Linked DNA regions of Homo sapiens: region 2 is linked to region 1. The links are contacts of gene promoters, found by promoter capture Hi-C in human tissues and cell types (Jung and others, 2019). All regions are on one chromosome and are shown on one strand. The core of a region is centred on a gene start or on the middle of the fragment in contact, and the rest is flanking DNA. Distances in the headings are between cores, read along the strand shown. Region 1 holds the start of RNF135 (ring finger protein 135). Region 2 has its middle 5.2 kb from the start of TRT-CGT4-1.

Region 1 (6,006 bases), core at 2,982-5,481:
AATTCTTGCTTTCAACAAAAATTAAAGAAAAATCAAATCAAGTTGTTAATTGAGAGATTATCACTATATGACTTTTTTGCATATATCTCAAAAAGTATTCAACAAAATGAGTGACAATTTTGTCATCTATTTATACATGTGAACAAGATTTCTCGGCACACATAAAAACATAAAAGAAATAGAATTTATTGCAAAAGTTTGTCTATCATTAAGTAATGTTCATTCATAGATAAATGCTTCTTTTTTTGACAGAGTCTTGCTCTGTTGCCCAGACTGGAGTGCAGTGGTGCCATTTCAGCTCACTACAACCTCCGTCTCCTAAGTTCAAGCAATTCTCCTGCCTCGGCCTCTGGAGTAGCTGGGACCTCAGGCCACCATGCCCAGCTAATTTTTGTATTTTTTGGTAGAGGCAGGGTTTCACCAGGTTGGCCAGGCTGGTTTCAAACTCCTGACCTCAAGTGTTCCGCTCACCTTGGCCTCTCAAAGTGCTGGGATTACAGATGTGAGCCACCGTGCCTGGGCATAAATGCATTTTTGAAAGAAATGAGCCCATCTGTCTTATTAATAGCTATCATTCCAATAAAATGTTTACTGTCTTTAAAAGTTATTTTATTTATATAAAAGTTATAAATTGCAGCATACTTTTCTTTTGTTTGACTGCTAATAGTAATTATATTGATAATTAAATCCAGGGGAAAAAATTTACCAAGAGCCTTTTTGTCACAGGAAGTTAAGAAGAATTAAAAATTTAATACACATACATACTTTTGTTGTAGAGAAGTATTACAAAGTGATAAAAGACTTTCATGCATGAAATATATTGCTTTGGAATGTAATTCTGTGGAGGAAATGGAATGGAAATACAAGTTCAGAAAGATAAAAGAATGACAAAATTTCTTTTTTTTTTTTTTTGAGACGGAGTCTTGCCCTGTTGCCGAGGCTGGAGTGCAATGGTGCCATCTTGGCTCATGGCAACCTTCACCTCCCGGGTTCAAATGATTCTCTTGCCTCAGCCTCCTGAGTAGCTGGGATTACAGGTGCCTGCAACTACGCCCAGCTAATTTTTTTTTGTATTTTTCGAACTCCTGACCTCATGATCCGCCTGCCTCGGCCTCCCAAAGTCCTGGGATTACAGGCATGAGCCACCGCACTCGGCCAAGAATGACAAAATGTCTGATGTAGGCTGAGCGCGGTGGCTCACCTCTGTAATCCTAGCACTTGGGAGGATGAGGTGGGCGGATCACCTGAGGTCAGGAGTTCGAGACAAGCCTGGCCAACATGGAGAAACCCTGTCAACATGGGGAAACCCCATCTCTACTAAAAATACAAAATTAGCCGGGCATGGTGGCGAGCGCCTGTAATCTCAGCTACTCCGGAGGCTGAGGCAGGAGAATGGTTTGAACCCGGGAGGTGGAGGTTGCAGTGAGACGAGATTGTGCCACTCCACTCCACTCCAGCCTGGGCAACAAAGTGAGACTCCATCTCAAAAAAAAAAAAAATCTGATATAAATGAAGAATTTGCTAATATATTTTTACTACCAGAGCTGACCACTCTCCCCCTTCCCCCTTTCTTTCTTTCTTTTTTTTTTTTCTTTTGAGACAGAGTCTTGCTCTGTCGCCCAGGCTGGAGTGCAGTGGTGCGAACTCAGCTCACTGCAAGCTCCGCCTCCTGGGTTCAGGTCATTCTCCTCCCTCAGCCTCCTGAGTAGCTGGGACTACAGGCTCCCGCCGTCACGCCCGGCTAATTTTTTTTGTATTTTTTAGTAGAGACGGGGTTTCACCGTGTTAGCCAGAATGGTCTCAATCTCCTGACCTCATGATCCGCCCGCCTCAGCCTCCCAAAGTGCTGGGATTACAGGCGTGAGCCACTGCGCCCGGCCCCCACTTCCCCCTTTCTTATAACCACTGCATGATTTTGCATAAAACTTTTAGGGCGTGTCCAAGAAAAAAGTTTGAAAACTACTGGTTAACTCACTCTTTCCAGAAACTTGGCTGTGAAATGGAGAAGAGGAGAGCTGGTTCCAGGGAGGCTCAGGTCAAAGGTGATTTTATTTTATTTTTTAATTTTTAATTTTTTTGAGACTAGGTCTAGCTCCTTCCCCAGGCTGGAGTGAAGTGGTGTGATCACAGCTAACCACAGTCTTGACCTCCTGAGATCTCATGGCTCATTACAGCCTCCACCTCCCTGGCTCAAGCAATCCTCCCACCTCAGTCTCCTGAGTAGCTGGGATCACAGGCCTGCGCTACCATGTCTAGGTAGTTTTTGTATTTTTTTTGTAGAGGCAAGGTTTCACCATGTTGCTCAGGCAGGTCTCGAACTCCTGAGTTCAGGCAATCCACCTGCCTCAGCCTCCCAAAGTGCTGAGATTACAGGCATAAGCCACCACGCCCCGCCAGTGATTTCATTTTTTAAGTTGGAAGATCTGAGCATGTTTAAGTGTTTAGTATCATGCCCGTTTTACAGAAAAAAAGAGGCTCTTAGAAACTACGATTTTACTCCGATGCGGAGATTCTAGAACAAGATCCAGGTAATACATCAGTCAGGATAGGCTAGGTTATGCTGTAGCAGCACACACCCACTAAATCTCAGTAAGCTGAATACATCCTAGTTTTCTTCTCCCTCTTACTACGTATCCTAGGGTGCGTTGGCAGGGAGTCTGCTCATCTTAGCCACTCAGTGACCCAGGTCACCGGATGATGGTTTCATCTCCATAATTGGGGCAGCTGGCAGAAAGGGATACAATGGCCGGCTCAGTCGCCTTTAAAGCTGGTGGGAAGTAACATATTACCTCTGTGTGTTTCAAGTGGGTCAGGGAAGTGCCAGTCCTACCATGTGCCCAGAAAGGGAAAGCACTGGAAACGTTGATGAGCAGCGCTGCCTACTCCATGACACTTCCAGTATTAGAAATAACCACAAACGCTTTTTTTTCTTTCTTTTCTTTCTTTTTTTTCTTTTTTTTTTTTTTTTTTTTTTTGAGACGGAGTCTCCCTATGTCGCCCAGGCTGGAGTGCAGTGGCGCAGTCTTGGCTCACTGAAACCTCCGCCTCCCGGGTTCAAGAGATTCTCCTGCCTCAGCCTCCCAAGTAGCTGGGATTACAGGCATGCGCCAGGGCGCCTGGCTTTTCTTTTCTTTTCTTTTTGTATTTTCAGTAGAGATGAGGGTTCACCATGTTGGCCAGGCTGGTCTTGAACTCCTGACTTCAAGTGATCCAAAGGTCGGCTACAAACTTGTATTATCTGATACCTACTTTGAGCCCAGGCCAGAAAGGATAAAGTAAAGCATGAGACGTTGTTAGTTCATTTCAACAGATTGGGGAGTTGTGGGTTTTAGTCTCTGACGCTTCATTGTTACCATGAGAGCCTGCAAGTTTTTCTTTTTTCTCTTTTTTTTTTTTTTAACCTCTTTGGGTCATCTGGGAGGACGTGGTGCTCTTTTAGCTCTAACATTTTCTGGTTGCAATGCGTTTAGGACTGGGATGCGAAGTGAGTGAGTGAGTGAGCCTTCTCAGGAAAACACTTTCTAGAATTTTGTCCGAGTGTCTGTTGGGAAACGCGCTTACATCCCGCAGAAGGCGGTAAGGACACAGCGCACAACTCTGCATTATACCTGCGAGTTAAAAAGCCAAGGGTTCGCTCACTCAACCTTGAATGCGCGTCAGAATCACCTGGGGGAGGTTTTACAAAATACCCGTGCTCCACCCAAGACAATGAAATCAGACTCCCTGCGAGCGGGGCCGAACATCAGCATTTTTGAGGACGCTCCCTGTGGCTGTGCATCGGTGATCTTTAATCCCCTGCTACTTGTTAGAGGAGCTGGATGACACTTCGTGGGCTCATTCTCATAAATAAGCTGCTGAATGGAGTCCTCTCCTCCCAAGAGTTGTCGGTGTTGCATCTTTTTTGTTGTTTATTTTTTTTTAAGCCAACGGACGAAGACATCCAACGGTGCTGCATCTTAATGGAGGGACATCCAGCTAAAGGGAATCTTGGAGACCTCCGCGGGTTTCTAGCAGCTCGCGGCATGTTGGTTTCCCAGGGCAAGAGGCCGCCACTGAAGGTCAGCTCTGTCTTTCCAGCTGGGCACTGGAGGCTCTAAGTCTGTTTTCAGCAGGATCGGAGGAAGGAGACGGGGTGGCGCCAAGGAAGGAGGAGAAAAGGCGGCCGAGAAAAGGAGGAGGGCAAGGGGAAGAGGAAGGGCGAGGGAGGAGCCTGAGGAGACTCGCCCGGCTCAACCCCGACGTCCGCGCCCCGGCCGCCTGTTGGCCATGGCGGGCCTGGGCCTGGGCTCCGCCGTTCCCGTGTGGCTGGCCGAGGACGACCTCGGCTGCATCATCTGCCAGGGGCTGCTGGACTGGCCCGCCACGCTGCCCTGCGGCCACAGCTTCTGCCGCCACTGCCTGGAGGCCCTGTGGGGCGCCCGCGACGCCCGCCGCTGGGCCTGCCCCACTTGCCGCCAGGGCGCCGCGCAGCAGCCGCACCTGCGGAAGAACACGCTACTGCAGGACCTGGCCGACAAGTACCGCCGCGCCGCACGCGAGATACAGGCGGGCTCCGACCCTGCCCACTGCCCCTGCCCGGGCTCCAGTTCCCTCTCCAGCGCGGCCGCGAGGCCCCGGCGCCGCCCGGAACTGCAGCGGGTAGGGAGGCCGGGCCCGCAGCTCCCCTGGCTCCCCCGGGCTGCCCGCCGCCTGACCCTTTCCCATGTGGCTCGAACCCCTTTCCTCAGCCGTTCTACTTTTACGTTCCTTTTCTCAGTCTAAAAGTCGAGTTCCGCTCTTCGGAGGCACTTTGGAAAGTTCATAAAAGTATGAAGAAGTAGAAAAAAACAAATTCCCCATCTTCCGAAAGCTTGTCAACTTAGCTGTTACACAGCTTGGCATATTTCAACTTCTTCCCAATCGATCTTCGGTCTCTTTCTCTGAAACTTGTAAAATTGTGGTAAGATCTATATAACATTAAAACTGGCCATTTTAACCTTTTTCTTTATTTCTTTGAGACGGAGTCTCGCTCTGTCGCCCAGGCTGGATGGAGTGCAATGGCGTGCGTGATCTCGGCTCACTGCAACCTCCGCCCCCCAGGGTCGAGTGATTCTCTTGCTTCAGGCTCGAGAGTAGCTGGGATTACAGGCGTGCGCCATCACGCCCGGCTAATTTTGGTATTTTTAGTAGAGACGGGGTTTCGACATGTTAGCCAGGCTAGTCTCAAACTCTTGACCACAGATGATCCGTCCGCCTCGGCCTCCCAAAGTGCTGGGATTACAGTCATGAGCCACAGCGCCTGGCCTCATTTTAACCTTTTATTTTTTTGAGACGGAGTTTTGCTTTGTGGCCCAGGCTGGAGTGCAGTGGCGCCATCTTGTCTCACTGCAAGCTCCGCCTCCCGGGTTCACGCCATTCTCCTGCCTCAGCCTCCCGAGTAACTGGGACTACAGGCGCCCGCCACCACGCCTGGCTAATTTTTTGTATGTTTTTTTCTTTTTTTAAAAAATAGGGACGGGGTTTCACCGTTGTTAGCCAGGATGGTCTCGATCTTCTGACCTCGTGATCTGCCCGCCTCGGCTTCCTAAAGTGCTGGGATTACAGGTGTGAGCCACCGCGCCCCGCCTATTTTAACCATTTTTAAGTGTACAATTCAGTGACAAATTAGTTACATTTCCTGTTGTGCAACTATCACTTCTGTTTCCAAAACTGTTTCATCATCATAAACAGAAACTTTGTACTCATTAAGCAGTAACTCCTCATTTCTCCTCCCTCTAGCCCCTGCTCACATCTAAGCTACTTTCTGTATCTGAGTTTGCCTGTTCTAGATATTTCATATAACTGGAATCGTTCAATGTTTGTCCCTTTGTGCCTGGTTTCTTTCACTTAGCATAGTGTTTTCAAAGTTCATTCATGTTGTAGCATGTGTCAGAACTTTATTCCTTTTATGGGGCTGAATGATATTCCATTGGGTGGATGTGCCACATTTTTTTTGTTTGTTTTGTTTTGAGATGGAGTCTTGCTCTG
Region 2 (6,006 bases), core at 2,367-4,866, 570 kb after region 1:
TCCAGGGCCCAGGACCTCTGTAGCCAGCTTGAAGCCAGACCTCCCTGGAACTAACGAGGTGACTGGGATTAGGGCTGCAGGAAGTTCCCCTCACTCTCCTGCCACCCCTGGTTCAGGTCTGGCTCTCACTTCAAACTCCAAGCTCTGACTTTGGTATCAGGCTTTGTCTTAGGCTCCATACTGGTGTGGCCTTTGGGTTTAAAAAGGAGCTAGAGTTTCTGAAAGGCCCAAACCCAGGGTGCAGAGGTGCTGAATTATGAGCCTACTTCCTACAGCCTGCTTGACAGCACCAAGCCCACGGGAGCTTGTGGACTCTCGGCCCTTGCTTTCTAGCCCAGCTGGCCCCTCCAGGGAGAAATACCTTTTCCAGCTCTGCCACCACTTGGCCATGGTTTCAGGGTTGGCTTTCCCAGCTTACCCAGGTCAGCAGGCAGCCCCTGACCAAAAGGTGGACTTTGCCAAGCTCTGGCAGAGCCTGGGCCAGACCCTCAGACCTTGGTTCTGCAGTTGGGGGGCTATGAGCGTGGGCTCTGAAGGCCATCAGGGCTGGAAGGAACGTGGGAGAGTATCTGCTCCAAATACTCCCACTAGTGAGCCCTCAAGATGAGACCATTTTTTGAGGTGGGGCAGAGACAAAGGAGACCCACTTTGTATCTCTTTACATCTTTGTAAAGATTGAACCCAGCCCCAGGACTGAGTTCAATTTGTGTCTACTCTCAAAGTCACAGAGCCAGTGAATGACAGGTGTGATACAGTCTCCAAAGACAAGTACCATGGATTTATTCCCTCCCTGGGTGCAGGCCACTATTCCACTGAGAGGTGAAGTTTATTCTTCACCTCTTTGAATCTGGGCTAATTCTGTGACTGCTTTGATGAATAGATGCAAAAATGCATCACTTGAGGCAGAAGTGACATTCTGGGACTTTTTTTTTTTAGACGAAGTTTTGCTCTTCTTGTCCAGGATGGAGTGCAATGGCGTGATCTCGGCTCACTGGGTTCAGGCAATTCTCCTGCCTCAGCCTCCTGAGTAGCTGGGATTACAGGCATCCACCACCATGCCCGGCTAATTTTTTGTGTTTTTAATAGAGACAGAGTTTCTCCATGTTGGCCAGGCTAGTCTCAAACTTCTGACCTCAGGTGATCCACCTGCCTCAGCCTCCCAAAGTGCTGGGATTACAGGTGAGAGCCACTGCGCCCGGCCCATTCTGGGACTTCTGAGCTCTAACCTTAAGAAGATCAGCAGCTTCTGCGTCCTTCCTCTTAAAATGCACCTTCTTGGAAAACCCAGCTGTGAGGAATCTCAAACAGCCACGTGGAGAACTGAGGCCCCAGCCAAGACTAGCAGGAGAGTGAGGCCATCCCAAATCCCCAGCAACCACCAGATGAAGCAGAACTGCCTGGTCAACCCACAGAGCCATGGAAAACAATAAAGTTGTTATTTTAAGATCTAAATGTTGGGGTAGTTGATTAGACACAGCAGTAGGTACCTGAAACACCAGGGCCTCCAGTTTCCTCTCCACCAGGCTTCCTCTCAGAAGATCCCCCATCCCAGAAGGAATCCAGCCTGGTTGACAGAGCCCAGACCCTGTCTCTAAATAAATGAATAAAGCCAGGCGTGGTGGCTCATGCCTGTAATCCCAGCACTTTGGGAGGCTGAGGCGGGCGGATCACGAGGTCAGGAGATTGAGACCAGCCTGGCCAACATGGTGAAACTCCATCTCTATGAAAAATACAAAAATTAGCTGGGTATGGTGGTGGGCACCTGTAGTCCCAGCTTTTCGGGAGGCTGAGGCAGGAGAATCGCTCGAACCTGGGAGGCGGAGGTTGCAGTGAGCCAAGATCGTGCCACTGCACTCCAGCCTGGCGACAGAGTGAGAATCAGTCTCAAAAAATAAATAAGAAATAAATGAATAAATAAGTGGCCACATATTCTCCAAAAAGTCTCAAGTTGCATTGACTTTCCCTCCTATTAACAGCACCTTAATTTAGACCTTTTCTGGTGGCTGTGAAATTTGATCAAAGGGAAAAGTGTCAGGTGTTACTGTACCAAAGGCAGAAGGGTCAAGCTGGCATTTCATTCCGCTGTTCACTTTAGCAGTGGATAATGAATCTTGCTCAATGTATAATTAACACAGGGCTGTAGCTAATGGCTAACTCTCCCATTTTGTAGATGAGGAAACAGACTAAATGGAGGCTGAAGGGACACTGTACATGGCCTCTGCCAAAGTTACCCTGCATCACTAACTTTTGCCTACTCCATACAAATAACCAGCAGCCCACAAACCTAGAATGGAAAGGTGTGTAAGCTGTATATGGCCTCCTGTATCAATGAACTATTGCTTCTATGTAACAAACCACCCTCAAATCCTAAGGCATACAATGATTTATTACCTTCCTGATTCTGTGGTAGGCTGGCAGTTCCTCTGCTGGGTGTGCCTGGGCTCGATCTTGCAGCTGCATCCAGCTGAGGCATCAGCTGAGCTGGAAGGTCCCAGATGGCTACCTGACATGTCTGGCAGACGGTGCTGGCTGTTAGCTGGAATGACCCTCGGGGCCTCTCAACCTTCAGTAGCTAGACTGCCTTTCTTCCACAGCATTCTCAGGGCAATTTCCTAAGACAGTGGAGGCAGAAGCTGCCTCTCTTGGGGCCTTAAGCTTCAGAACTTACATAACATCACTTTTGCCACATTGTTTTAGTCAAAGCAAGCCCCATGGCCAGCCTGTACCAAAAAGTGGGAGAAGAGACTCCACCTCTAGGTGGGAAAAGCTGCAAAGAATTTGTGACTGCATTTAAGCTATCCCACTTATTTATGAGACGGAGTCTGGCTCTGTTGCCCAGGCTGCAGTGCAATGGTGTGATCTCAGCTCACTGCAACCTTCACCTCCCAGGTTCAAGCGATTCTCCTGCCTCAGCCTCCAGAGCAGCTGGAATTACAGGAACCCACAACCACGCCCAGCTAATTTTTTGTATTTTTACTAGAGATGGGGTTTCACCATGTTGGCCAGGCTGGTCTTGAACCCCTGACCTCAGGTGATACACCCGCCTGGGCCTCCCAAAGTGCTGGGATTACAGATGTGAGCACCGCACCAGGCAACCACCTATTTAAAACTGCAACCCGGGCCGGGCACGGTGGCTCATGCCTATAATCCCAGCACTTTGGGAGGCCGAGGCGGGCGGATCATGAGGTCAGGAGATCGAGACCATCCTGGCTAACACGGTGAAACCCCGTCTCTACTAAAACTACAAAAAATTAGCTGGGCGCGGTGGCGGGGGCCTGTAGTCCCAGCTACTCAGGAGGCTGAGGCAAGAGAACGGCGTGAACCCGGGAGGTGGAGCTTGCAGTGAGCTGAGATAGCGCCACTGCACTCCAGCCTGGGCGATAGAGCGAGACTCTGTCTCAAAAAAAGAAAAAAAGAAAAAAAAACAACAACAAAAAAACTGCAACCTGGCCAGGCGCGGTGGCTCACGCCTGTAATCCTAGCACTTTGGGAGGCCAAGGTGGGCAGATCATGAGGTCAGGAGATCGAGACCATCCTGGCCAACATGGTGAAACCCCGTCTCTACTAAAAAAAAAAAAAATACAAAAATTACCTGGGTGTGGTGGTGCGCGCCTGTAATCCCAGCTACTTGGGAGGCTGAGGCAGGAGAATCGCTTGAACCCAGGAGGTGGAGGTTGTAGTGAATTGAGATAGCGGCACTCTGCTCCAGCCTGGCGACAGAGCAAGACTCCATTTCAAAAAAAAAGCTGCAACTCTCCCCCTCCTGAAGAACATCCTAGCCTCCTTCCCTGCTGTATTTTTCTCCCTAGTACTTCTCACCAACTGATAGACTGTATGTTTTGCTTATTTAAGAATGGAAGCCCCATAAGGGCAGAGATCTGTGCTGCTTAGTTCACCGCTATAGCCCTAGCATTGAGAACAGTATTTGGCACACAGTAGATGCTCAATGATTTGCTGAAGGAATAAATGACTAGGTGCTCTTATGACCACGCTGTATGAAGGTGAGTAAGGCTTGATTCCTGCCCACTTGGAGCTCTGTGTTCCAGAACCAGCTCCTAGGCCTACCCAGCTGAGAAGTGGACCTGGGTGAACCCACAGTGACCCCACCAAAGGGCAACTACAATGTGGCCCAGGGTTGATAATGATTCATAGCAGGGGGTCAGAGAGGAAAGAATTCAAAAATTATTTTTCTTGTTATTTATTTATTTATTTTTTAAATGGAGTCTTGCTCTGTTGCCCAGGCTGGAGTGCAGTGGCACAATCTCGGCTCATTGCAACCTCTGCCTCCTGGGTTGAAGCAATTCTCCTGCCTCAGCCTCCCAAGTGGCTGGGACTACAGGTGCACACCACCACACCTGGCTAATTTTTGTAGTTTTAGTAGAGACAGGGTTTCACCATGTTGGTCAGGCTGGTCTTGAACTCCTGACCTTATGCGTGTCAGTCACAGAGACCAGCCCCGTTTTTGTAAAAGAGACTTTTTTTTTTGAGATGGAGTCTCACTCTGTTGTCCAGGCCAGGGTGCAATGGCATGATCTCGGCTCACTGCAACCTCTGCCTCCCAGGTTCAAGCAATTCTCCTGTCTCAGCCTCCTGAGTAGCTGGGATTACAGGTGCATGCCACCACACCCAGCTAATTTTTTGTATTGTAGTAGAGATGGAGTTTCACCATGTTGCCTAGGCTGGTCTCGAACTCCTGAACTTGGGTGACCCACCCGCCTTGGCCTCCCAAAGTGCCAGGATTACAGGCATGAGCCACTGCAACCGGCCTTGTAAAACAGACTTCTAAAGAGCAGTTTTAGGTTCACAGCAAAACTAAGCAGAAAGCAGAGTTCCCTATATACCCATGGCCGCCGTATCTCCCTAGTCTCCCCTGCCATCAACATCCTCCACTAGAGTGGTACATCTGTTACAACTGATGACCCTGCATTGACACATCATCATCCAAAGTACATAGTTTACACCAGGGTTCACTCTTGGTGTTGAACGTTCTATGGGATTTTTTTTTCTTTATTTTTCCCAGCCCAGAACCCCTCTATGGGTTTTGACAAATATATAATGATATGTATCCACCATTATATCATGCAGAATAGTTTTGCTGCCCTAAAAACTCTCTGTGCCCTATCTACTCATCCTTCCCACCCCTCAACCCCTGGCAACCATTGATATTTTTACTGTTTCCACAGTTTTGCCTTTTTTAGAATGTCATATAATACAGTATGTAGCCTTTTCAGTTTAGCTTGTCTCAGTCCGTTTTGTGCTGCTAAGACAGAATACCATAGACTAGGTAATTTATAATGCACAGAAATTTATTGGCTCGTGGGACTGAAGGCTGGGAAGCCCAAGATCGAGGAGCTGGCATTTGGTGAGGACCTTCTTGCTTCATCAACCCAGAGGCCGGGCAAAGAGAGGGTGGGAAGGCAAACTTCTTTTATAAGAAAACTACTTGCTCTATAATGAACCCACTCCTTTGAGAATGGCATTAATGCATTTATGAGGGTAGTGGCCCCATGACCCAAACACTTCCCACTAGGTCCCATCTCCAAGACCACCACATTGGGGATCAAGTTTCTAACACATGAACTTTAGGGGACACATTCAAACCATAGCAGTAGTATGCATTTTCACTTAGTAATATACATTGAAGATTCTTCTGTGTTTTTTTCATGACTTGGTAGTTCATTTCTTCCTTTTCACAGACTTAATTTTTCAGAGCAGTTTTAGATTCACGCAAAACTGAGCACAAAGTACAGAGAGCTCCCACATACTCTCTGCCCTCCCAACTGCACAGCTTCCCCTGAACAAGAGTTGTGCACTTGTTATAACTGATGAAAAGGTCCACTTTATTTTTTCTTGTGCTGTGTTGTCCAGGCTAGGGTACAGTAGCACAATCATAGCTCACTGCAACCTTGAACTCCTGAGCTCAAGTGATCCTCCTGCCTCAGCCTACCAAGTAACTAGGACTATAGGTGCTATCATGCCTGCCTTGTTTTAGTTTACTTTTTGTAG

The links. The method cuts DNA at HindIII sites, captures the fragments that hold promoters and counts their contacts. A contact is called where the count stands out against the background at its distance.
Region 2: a fragment that was not itself captured here is called in contact with the fragment with the promoter of RNF135 in region 1 in 1 of the 25 tissues and cell types used here (mesendoderm cells).

What each region holds. Positions count from the first base shown.
Region 1 is chr17:30,966,808-30,972,813 of GRCh38, forward strand. RNF135 (ring finger protein 135) reads left to right here and starts at 4,232. Exons shown (of 5, transcript NM_032322.4): 1 at 4,232-4,638. The coding sequence starts at 4,267. RefSeq lists enhancers at 3,368-3,457, 3,518-3,577, 3,646-4,207, 3,858-4,107, 4,208-4,769 and 1 more and a silencer at 4,188-4,727. The HindIII fragment of the contact is 16,210 bases long and covers 1-6,006 here.
Region 2 is chr17:31,541,919-31,547,924 of GRCh38, forward strand. No RefSeq gene overlaps it. Among named protein-coding and RNA genes, the nearest start is that of TRT-CGT4-1, 5.2 kb to the right of the region's middle. The HindIII fragment of the contact is 7,091 bases long and covers 72-6,006 here.